Regions from separate parts of the Homo sapiens genome. Here region 2 is linked to region 1. The links are contacts of gene promoters, found by promoter capture Hi-C in blood cells and fetal thymus (Javierre and others, 2016). All regions are on one chromosome and are shown on one strand. Each heading gives the region's core, a stretch centred on a gene start or on the middle of the fragment in contact. The rest is flanking DNA. Distances are from core to core; before and after follow the strand shown.

Region 1 (4,536 bases), core at 347-2,846:
TTGGCTCACTGCAACCTCTGCCTCCCAGAGTCAAGTGCTTCTCCTGCCTCAGCCTCCCGAGTAGCTGGGATTACAGGAGCTCCCCAACATGCCCAGTTAATTTTTGTATTTTTGTAGAGATGGAGTTTCGCCATGTTGGCCAGGCTGGTCTCGAACTCCTGACCTCAAGTGATCTGCCCACCTTGGCCTCCCAAAGTGCTGGGATTACAGGCATAAGCCACCATACTCAGCTTCATTTTAAAGATATTGTGAGGTGCAGCAGTGACCTGCCCAGGTCACGAAGCTGGGGAAGTGACAGAGCCAGGATCAAACTCCAACTCCAAGTCAGCCTTCTTGCCCTTCCCCACACCACCTGCCCCTGCTGGCCGAAGGCTGGGACACGGCCCTGGCCCCTGGGGCCTCTCCACCCCAGGCCTCTCACTGCCCAGATGCTGAGGCAGGAATGCCTTGGGGCTGCCCGTCCTGCTCCATTTCTGCATTCAGCCAGGCAACATTTGCCCACTTGGGTGTGGTCAGGCCCTGGGGCCTCAGACTCCCACAAGAGGAAAACAAATAGCGGTGGCACCACCAGGTGTGCACAGAAGCAGGGGCTCCACCCTCAGAGGGAAGATGGGGGGCCCAGGGGCTTCAACAAAGAGCTGTCGCTCAGTCTTGAGAGAGCTTCTGCAGGCCAGGGCGCCATCCCCAGGAGAGGGCACAGCACCCACAGAGGTGGTGGCGGAAGTGGCAAGGGCATCAGGATGGGGGTGAGACGCTCGTGGGGGACAGTGGCCCCAACCCCCTCAACAAACCCGGGCCACACGTTGACCACGCCCACGCCAGGGCCCCCTGCTTTCACTGCCCCGGGGACAACACAAAGGAGCACTGACCGGGACAGATGCCTCTCCACCTTGGTACCCCGACAAGGGTGCAGCTGCTCGGGGTGGGACGCTGAGGGGTCGACTCCAGGGGACTGGGGCAGAAGAGCCCCCAACCTCTGAGGAAATGATGACATCATCTGTCCGTCCGTCCGTCCTTCCTGCTTCAGGAGGGGAAACTGAGGCCCCGAGAAGGCCCAAGTCACAAAACTAATGAATGGCAAAGCCAAGAGTCGTCCTGGGATGCGCGGTCTCCCCGCCCCGTGCCAAATGACTCCCTGTTGGGGCTTAGAGTTCCCGAGTCCGCCGCCCACTCTTGGCCCTCGCCCCCGCGGGGTTCCGATCTCTGCTCCAGGACTCGGCCTCCCGCGCCCCGCCCCGCCCGGTGGCCGCGCGCCCGCTCACCTGGCACAGCAGGTCCCTCGCGTAGCCGGCGCACGCGGCCCACTCGGCGGCGTCCACGCGGCTCGCCAGGGCCCAGAAGCGGCGGGTCAGCTCGGCGTCGCGCCCCTCATCGCAGCAGCCGAAGTCCGAGTACTGCGCGCAGAGGCGCAGCGGCTGCGTCGGCCGGAAGGGCGGCCTGAAGTCCAGGCACTGCGGATGCGCGGCGGCCCCGAGCACCCAAAGCGCCAGCAGCGCCCCGGCCCTGGCCCGGGCCATCGCTACGCCCCGCGGGGGAAGAGGCGGAGGGACGGCAGCCCCGGTCCCCTCCCGGGGCGCTCGCGGCGGCAGGGAAGGGGCGGGCGCTCCCCTTCCCTACACGCAGGGCCTCGAGTTTGGGGACCTCCCCTTCTAGGAGGTCACCTCTGGTCGGGGACACTCGGCGGGACTGAAGGAAGAGGGACGCGGCGCAGAATGCGGCACGACCTCTTTTAACCGCTTTCCAAATTCGATGGGAGTGGCCCGGTCTGTTTAAAGCCCCGGTGTGTTTTCCCGGTTCCGCCTGGGGCCCTGCTTCCTCCCCACAGGGCGCTCTTTAGCCAGGGAGGCGCAGGGCCAGAGGCCTGGACTCCTGGGCTTCGGTTCCACCTCCCACTGGGCTAGGGAAACGGATGCCCGCAGCCCGTCCCCGAAAGCTCCCACGTAACATTTTAAAAATGGGGGTGCGAGGGAAAGAACAGGGGGTGTTGCCCCAGGACTCTCAGGGAGAAGTGAAACCTGGCGTAGGGGTGGGGAGGGAGGACGGAGCAGTCTCCGCAGTCCACCCTTTGCCCTTACTGTGGGCTTCTTCCCAGTCTCTGCTCCTGGGGCAGCGGATTCTCCTGCAGCCCAGGACCCACTGGGGCTCCCCACTTCCACTCTCGCATAGGGAGCACTGATGAATCTACCTCCTGGGATGGGCATCCAGCCCTTTGTTCCGCTGCCCCCGCTGGAGATTCAGACCCAACCCCGCCCCACCCCCCCACACACATACAGACGCACACACGCTGTCTTACCTACCCCAGAATCTCATGGCACCAAAACCACCCACACAGACAAACACACACACACTGTCTCACCTACCCTAGAATCTCACAGCACCAAAACCACCCAGGCATTTTTCTCAAGTGGACCTCAGCGTTTGCTTCTCCCTGGAGTGTCCTTCCCCATCTTCTCTGTCCAGTGAGCTCCTACTCCATCTTCATGGCCCCAACGCACACATCCGTCCTCTGCAGGTCTCTTTGGACTGTCCTGGGGGATCATGTTTCTGTCTTTGGGCCCATGCTCCTGGCAGAGCTGGGGGTGGATGAGATGCGGCAGGGCTGGAGCACTCAGAGGTCTGTGGCTCTGGCCTGAACAGGTGCAGTGTAAGAGTCAGGGTCTCCGCACAGCCAAACATCTCTGAGTATTTGAAACACGGGGAATTTAACGCAGGGACTTGAAGCCAAAGAGGCTAAGAAGCCATACAGGGCTCAGTGAAGTAACCTTGAGATCAGCAACAGTAGGAACAGTCCCCAGGTCCTTGATGCAGGAAGAGCAGATGTTACTGGAGCCAAGGAGCTATGGTCACCTTGTCAAAGCTGGACCCTCACAAGGCCTGTCTGGCCACAGCTGGAGATAGCCACTGTCAGAGATTCTGCACAGACAGAGGAGGAGAAATACCCCGGCTTCTCCCTGCCACTTCCCCTCCAACTCCCACCTGTGGCTTTCATTGGCTGAACCTAGCAGAGGGCTGCTAGGGTGGGAAATGCGGCCTGCAACGGCTTCCTGCACAGACAGCTGGGAATAGGCAGAGCCAGGATGGAATCGGAGGGCACGATGGCGCCTACTTCCCAGCTGGGACTCAGAACTGGGTGATAGTCACACATCAACACAGGGCTCCAGATGAGTGTACAGAGGTGGAAGTGACACAGAGCCTGGGCCACAGCCATGAGGTTTGGGCTCCTACAGCCACAGAAAATGTCAAACACAGCCCAGCCCCAGCCAGAGTAACATAAATCCTCACCCTAATACCTATTTACCTCGGTTTCTGTTATCTAGTACATCCTGATTGGCTTTCCAGAAAAACAACAAGGCATGAAAAAAAGATAAGAAAAGTCACAGTCAGGAGCCGGGCACAGTGGCTCACGCCTGTAATCCCAGAACTTTGGGAGGCTGAGGCGGGCGGATCACCCGAGGTCAGGAGTTCGAAACCAGCCTGGTCAACATGGTGAAATCTCGTCTCTACTAAAAATACAAAAATTAGCCAGGCGTGGTGGCACGCGCCTATAATCCCAGCTACTGGGAGGCTGAGGCATGAGAATCGCTTGAACCCAGGAGGCGGAGGCTGTAGTGAGCTGAGATCGTGCCATTGCACTCCAGCCTGGGTGACAGAGCGAGACTCTGTCTCAAAAAAGAAAAAAAAAAGTCAGTCAGAAGGAGCATCAGAGCCAGCCTGGGACATGACACAGATGCTGAAATTACCAGACATGGAATTTAAAATAACTATGACTAATATGTTAAGGGCTCTGGTGGAAAAAGTTGACAACATCAAGACCAAACATCTCTGAATATTGACAAGGACATTGGCAAGGACAAATGGGTAATAGAAGCAGAGAGGGGTCCACTTTAAGAAAAAAAATGAAGGCCGGGCACAGTGGCTCATGCCTGTAACCCCAGCACTTTGGGAGGCCAAGGTGGGCGGATCACGATGTCAGGAGATCGAAATCATACTGGCTAATACGGTGAAACCCCATCTCTACTAAAAATACAAAATTTAGCCGGGCATGGTGATGGGCGCCTATAGTCCCAGCTACTTGGGAGGCCGAGGCAGGAGAATGGCGTGAACCCAGGAGGCGGAACTTGCAATCAGCTAAGATTGCGCCACTGCACTCCAGCCTGGGTGACAGAGCGAGACTCCGTCTCAGAAAAAAAAAAAAAATTAAAAGATATATTAAAAGTCAAAAACAATGTAACAGAAATGCCCTTGCCGAGCTGACAAGTAGACTGAGACTGCCGAGGAGAACACCAGTGAGCTTAAAGATGCGTCAGCAGCAGCTTCTCAAACTGATACACCAAGAGAAAAACAGAAGTTACAAAAACAAACACTAGAGCATCCAAGGACTGTGGAACAATTTCCAAAGATGTAAATACAGATAACTTGAAAATGGGAAAGAGAAGAAGGGGAAAAAAATGGCAGAAGAAATAGTTGAAGTAAAAATGGCTGAAAGGGCAGGCACAGTGGCTCATGCCTGTAATCCCAGCACTTTGGGAGGTGGAG
Region 2 (4,483 bases), core at 1,279-3,778, 3.2 Mb after region 1:
CTGCTCAGGGGTGTGGCCCTGAAGTTTAAACTTCCTTCATTTCCCAGTAAGTCTAGAAATTTATCTGAGATTGTGACTAATTTACTAGTGGCCAGTGGATGAGAGAAAGAGTGGGAATCTGAAAACCAGAACCTCAGGGAAGTGCAGAAATTGCTCCTTTCTGGGGATGTGCCACAGGGGTGACAGAATGAAGTCCCCGGAAGCTGGAGCTGATGAACCACAAACACAGTGAACCAACTCATTGACCTCACGTTTAAGTCAGGGTCTTCAAAGGAAGAGAAGGGTTTCTGGACCTGTCTGAATACAGGGTTTAGATGCTCTGTGAGTATAAAAAACATATGTCAACTTTACCTACAACTGTCAAAGAAGGAAAAAGCTTCAGGTTTACAGTTTTCCATTTGAATTCTAGAATTTAAGTTGACGGGTTAGACATATTAATCTCATCTGGGACAAAGGAATAAGAAACTACGTCCTCAGAATGTACACACCAAGTTCTTTCTTTTCCAAAATTGGAGGGCATTGCTATTCTGTCGATAGTTTCTAAGAGATGAACCTGAACTTGTCACCAGAAATGTAGAACTTTTGAACAGTGGGCACTATTTCATTAGATGCAAAATGGAGAAGACGGTACCTTCTGCATAGGGTTGTTACGAAGAATGAACACAATAATCCATGTAAGGGTCTTAGCACTAGGCAAATGCTCAAAAAGTATTAGGCTACAAACAAACACATTAACCAATTCTGTGAAGGTCACGTCTCTGGGCGAATGCTTACCCTGCTAGATCAAGAACATGGATTGTTGGAATTACATTTGTTCCATCGCCAAAAACTGGTAATGCAGGAATCTCGCCCAACCAAGCCATCTGAAAGGAAGAAAAGCAAAATCATGTCCCCCAGTTATATGTGGATGGCTATTACAGCTCACACATAAGTCTACAGTCAGAGGCAACTGAAAGGCCTAGCTATCTGCTTAAGTAATTTCCTCTAGGGGGTGTTTTATAAATCAGCCCTGATGAGATTTAGGATCAAATTCTGCCAAGAGAAATAGTGTGTAGCCCTGGGACTGAATCAAATTCTGCCAAGAGAAATAATGTGTAGCCCTGGGACTGAATCAAATTCTGCCAAGAGAAATAATGTGTAGCCCTGGGACTGAAATACTTTTCAAGAAATCTACAACCTCTCAGCCGTATTTAGTAGCTATACGCATGGCATTCACATAGAGAAGAAATGTTTTCACATGCATGATGTCTTAATTCTCACAAAAAGACAAATTAAAATTTAAAATTACCCCCACCAGTAGGGATGAGGTGAGGGGAAATAAGTACCATCAGTCCAGGGGTGAAATGCTTAGCGGATAAGTAGCATGCAGGAGGATACACTTGTGAGAGCTTGGACTGGAACCCCGATCCTCAGAGTCCAAATCCTCATCTTTTCTTCTCATTAAGTATTTCAGTAACCAAACAGACATGATGAGTACTGTTTAAGTGTCACATATTAGATTATTTTGAATTGTTGTTAAGAGTGAAAGAGGTAGGGGTAGGGGTCACAGTAGACCACTGGGTCTTGTAAGATATTTTGGACTTTCAGAAAGTATTGAAGGGTTCTAAGCAGTGATGTGACACCAGCAGGCTTGCTTTTGTTGCCTTGTGGAGAAGTGGCGGGAAGGAGAGTCCAGTGGGGACAGAGGGGTGATGGCAGGTGTGCAGGCGAAATAGGGTAGCTTAGCCTGGAGGTGGGAAGTGCAGGGAGTGGGGATGGAGAGAAGGGAGACATTGAGGAGGCTGACTGTAGTAACTGGGAATTTTATGATGGGTAATGTGAAAGGAAAATAAACCTTGGGACCCCAAAATCACTAAGCCAAAGGGAAAAGTCAAGCTAGGAACTACATAAAGCAAACCTGTCTCTCATTCAAAGATTTTATTTTGTTTTCTTTTTTTTTTTTTTTTTTTTGAGACGGAGTCTTGCTGTGTCACCCAGGCTGGATGGAGTGCAGTGGCAGGATCTCAGCTCACTGCAACCTCTGCCTCCCAGGTTTAAGTGATTCTCCTGCCTCAGCTTCCCGAATAGTTGGGATCACAAGCATGTGCCACCACACCTGGCTAATTTTTGTATTTTTAATAGAGATGGGATTTCACCATGTTGGCCAGGCTGGTCTCGAACTCCTGACCTCAGGTGATCTACCCGCCTCAGCCTCCCAATATGCTGGGATTACTGGCGTGAACCACCATGCCTGGCCTCATACCTTCCTCACAATTTGCCCACTATGAAATTATCTGTAGGCCCCAAGAGCTTTACCCGAAAACAGTTCTGTTGAATTTCACCCTGACAATGTAAATTGACAGCTTATCTTCACAGGTACAGGACAAGGACAGAACTCAAAGTCATCCCTAGGCTCACCTGACACAAATGCCTATCTGATTGCTTCCTCGGCCCTATGTCTATTTTATCTTACATAAAAATGCAGATTCGCTGAGCTAGATAAATGCATAAGTGACTATTCCTCTACCCTTCCCTCATGTCGAACAGCTGATCAAAGACTCAAAAGAATGTGCCCGCTTGCCTCTTATCTACCCACACCTTTTATTTATTTTTTGCAGATGCAGGGTTTCACCATGTTGCCCAGGCTGGTCTCAAACTCCTGGGTTCAAGCCATCCACTCACACTGGCCTCCGAAAGTGCTTTACTGGGATTATAGGCATCAGCCACCATGCCTGGCTTACCCACATCTTTAAAAAATTTCTTCCTCTTTCTCTAATATCTACCCTTTTCCCTTTAAATATTGAAGCACTCAAAGTCATCTTTGGAGAAAGGCACAGGCCTATCTCCTGGGCGTGCATCCTTAACCTTGGCACAATAAACTTCTAAATTGATTGAGACCTGTCTCAGAAACTTTTTGGTTTGCAGTAAGGAGGGAGGAGTTGGATTCTGATCATGTAGCTGGTTGGAGGGTTACCCCATTTTCTGAGATGGGGCCTTGGAGGAGGAGCAGGTTTGGGGATGACTGTAGGTATAGTTTGGATTTGGGAAAGACATCCAAGTTGAGGTGCTGAGTAGGCAGCTGGACCTACAGAGCTAGAACTTAGGAGAGAGAGCCTCGCTGGAGACTGAAGTTTGAGTCATTGGTATCAGTCATAGGAATAAACAGACCAAGGGAGAGAGAGCAGAGGGTGAAGAAAAAAGGTCTAGGGCCGAGGCCTGCGAATGCCAAGATTCAGTGAGCAGGTAGGTGAGAAGTAGCTGAGAATGGACAATGAGTAAGAGCTTCCTTGAGCTTCTCCTCTGCAACTGTCATATCTCTTGTATTAAAAAAATCAGTTCGAGGCCGGGCACGGTGGCTCACGCCTGTAATCCCAGCACTTTGGAGGCTGAGGCGGGCGGATCACGAAGTCAGGAGTTCAAGACCAGCCTGGCCAATATGGTGAAACCCTGTCTCTACTAAAAATACAAAAATTAGCTGGGCATGGTGGCACACACCTGTAATCCCAGCTACTCGGGAGGCTGAGGCAGGAGAACTGCTTGAACCCAGGAGGTGGAGATTGCAGTGAGTTGAGATTGCACCACTGCACTCCAGCCTGGGTGAAAGAGTAAGACTCCTTCTTTAAATAAATAAATACATAATAAATAAATCAAATAAAAATTAAAAATCAGTTCAACCAACCTCTCTTGACTACACTTTATCCTTTAACTCCGCCTTCTTTCTTTGCACCCCCCTCCTTTTACAGGAAAATTCCTTGAAATATTTCTCTGTTCTCATTGTCTTCAATTCCCCTCCAGCTGTTCCTCTTGAACCTGCGGCTGTTAGACTTTTGTCCTACCTAGTGCCAAAAAATTTAGCGGTCAATTTGTAGGTTTCATCTTAGTTGATTATCTGCAGTATCTGACACAATTTGTCATTCTTTCTTTTTAAAAACTTTTTTTTTTTTTTTTTTGAGATGGAGTCTCGCTCTGTCACCCAGGCTGGAGTGCAGTGGTGCAATTTCGGCTCACTGCAAGCTCCGCCTCCTCGGTTCACACCATTCTCCTACTTCAGCCTAACGAGTAGCTGGGACCACAGGCTCCCGCCACCATGCCCGGCTAATTTTTTGTATTTTTAGTAGAGACGGGGTTTCTCCGTGTTAGCCAGGATAGTCTTGATCTCCTGACCTTGTGATCCGCCTGCCTTGGCCTCCCAAAGTGCCGGGATTACAGGCGTGAGTCGGCCAAAAATATTTTTTTTAATAATTATTTACTTTTCTCTTATTTCCTCTCCTGCTTCCTGCCCACCCTTCTCAACCTCCTTTCCTAATTCCTTCCCATTTCCCTATAACCTCCAATATTGGAGGGTTCCAAGACTCAGTCCTCAGGCCCCTATCTCTTCTCCATATTCATTCAGTAGTTGATGTCATCCAGTCCCAAGGATTTAAGTACCCACTGTATACTGACAGCTCCCATGATTATATCTCCAGACCTGACCTCCCCCATGATCACCAAACTCTTTTTGTCC

The links. The method cuts DNA at HindIII sites, captures the fragments that hold promoters and counts their contacts. A CHiCAGO score of 5 or more calls a contact.
Region 2: a fragment that was not itself captured here is called in contact with the fragment with the promoter of HHIPL1 in region 1 in 1 of 17 cell types (naive CD8 T cells); the score reaches 7.2 in naive CD8 T cells.

The regions. Positions count from the first base shown.
Region 1 is chr14:99,642,189-99,646,724 of GRCh38, reverse strand. HHIPL1 (HHIP like 1) reads right to left here and starts at 1,596. Exons shown (of 9, transcript NM_001127258.3): 1 at 1,263-1,596. The coding sequence starts at 1,517. The HindIII fragment of the contact is 13,444 bases long and covers 1-4,536 here.
Region 2 is chr14:96,439,110-96,443,592 of GRCh38, reverse strand. It overlaps AK7 (adenylate kinase 7), which reads right to left. Exons shown (of 18, transcript NM_152327.5): 7 at 775-863. Among named protein-coding and RNA genes, the nearest start is that of AK7, 49 kb to the right of the region's middle. The HindIII fragment of the contact is 4,300 bases long and covers 379-4,483 here.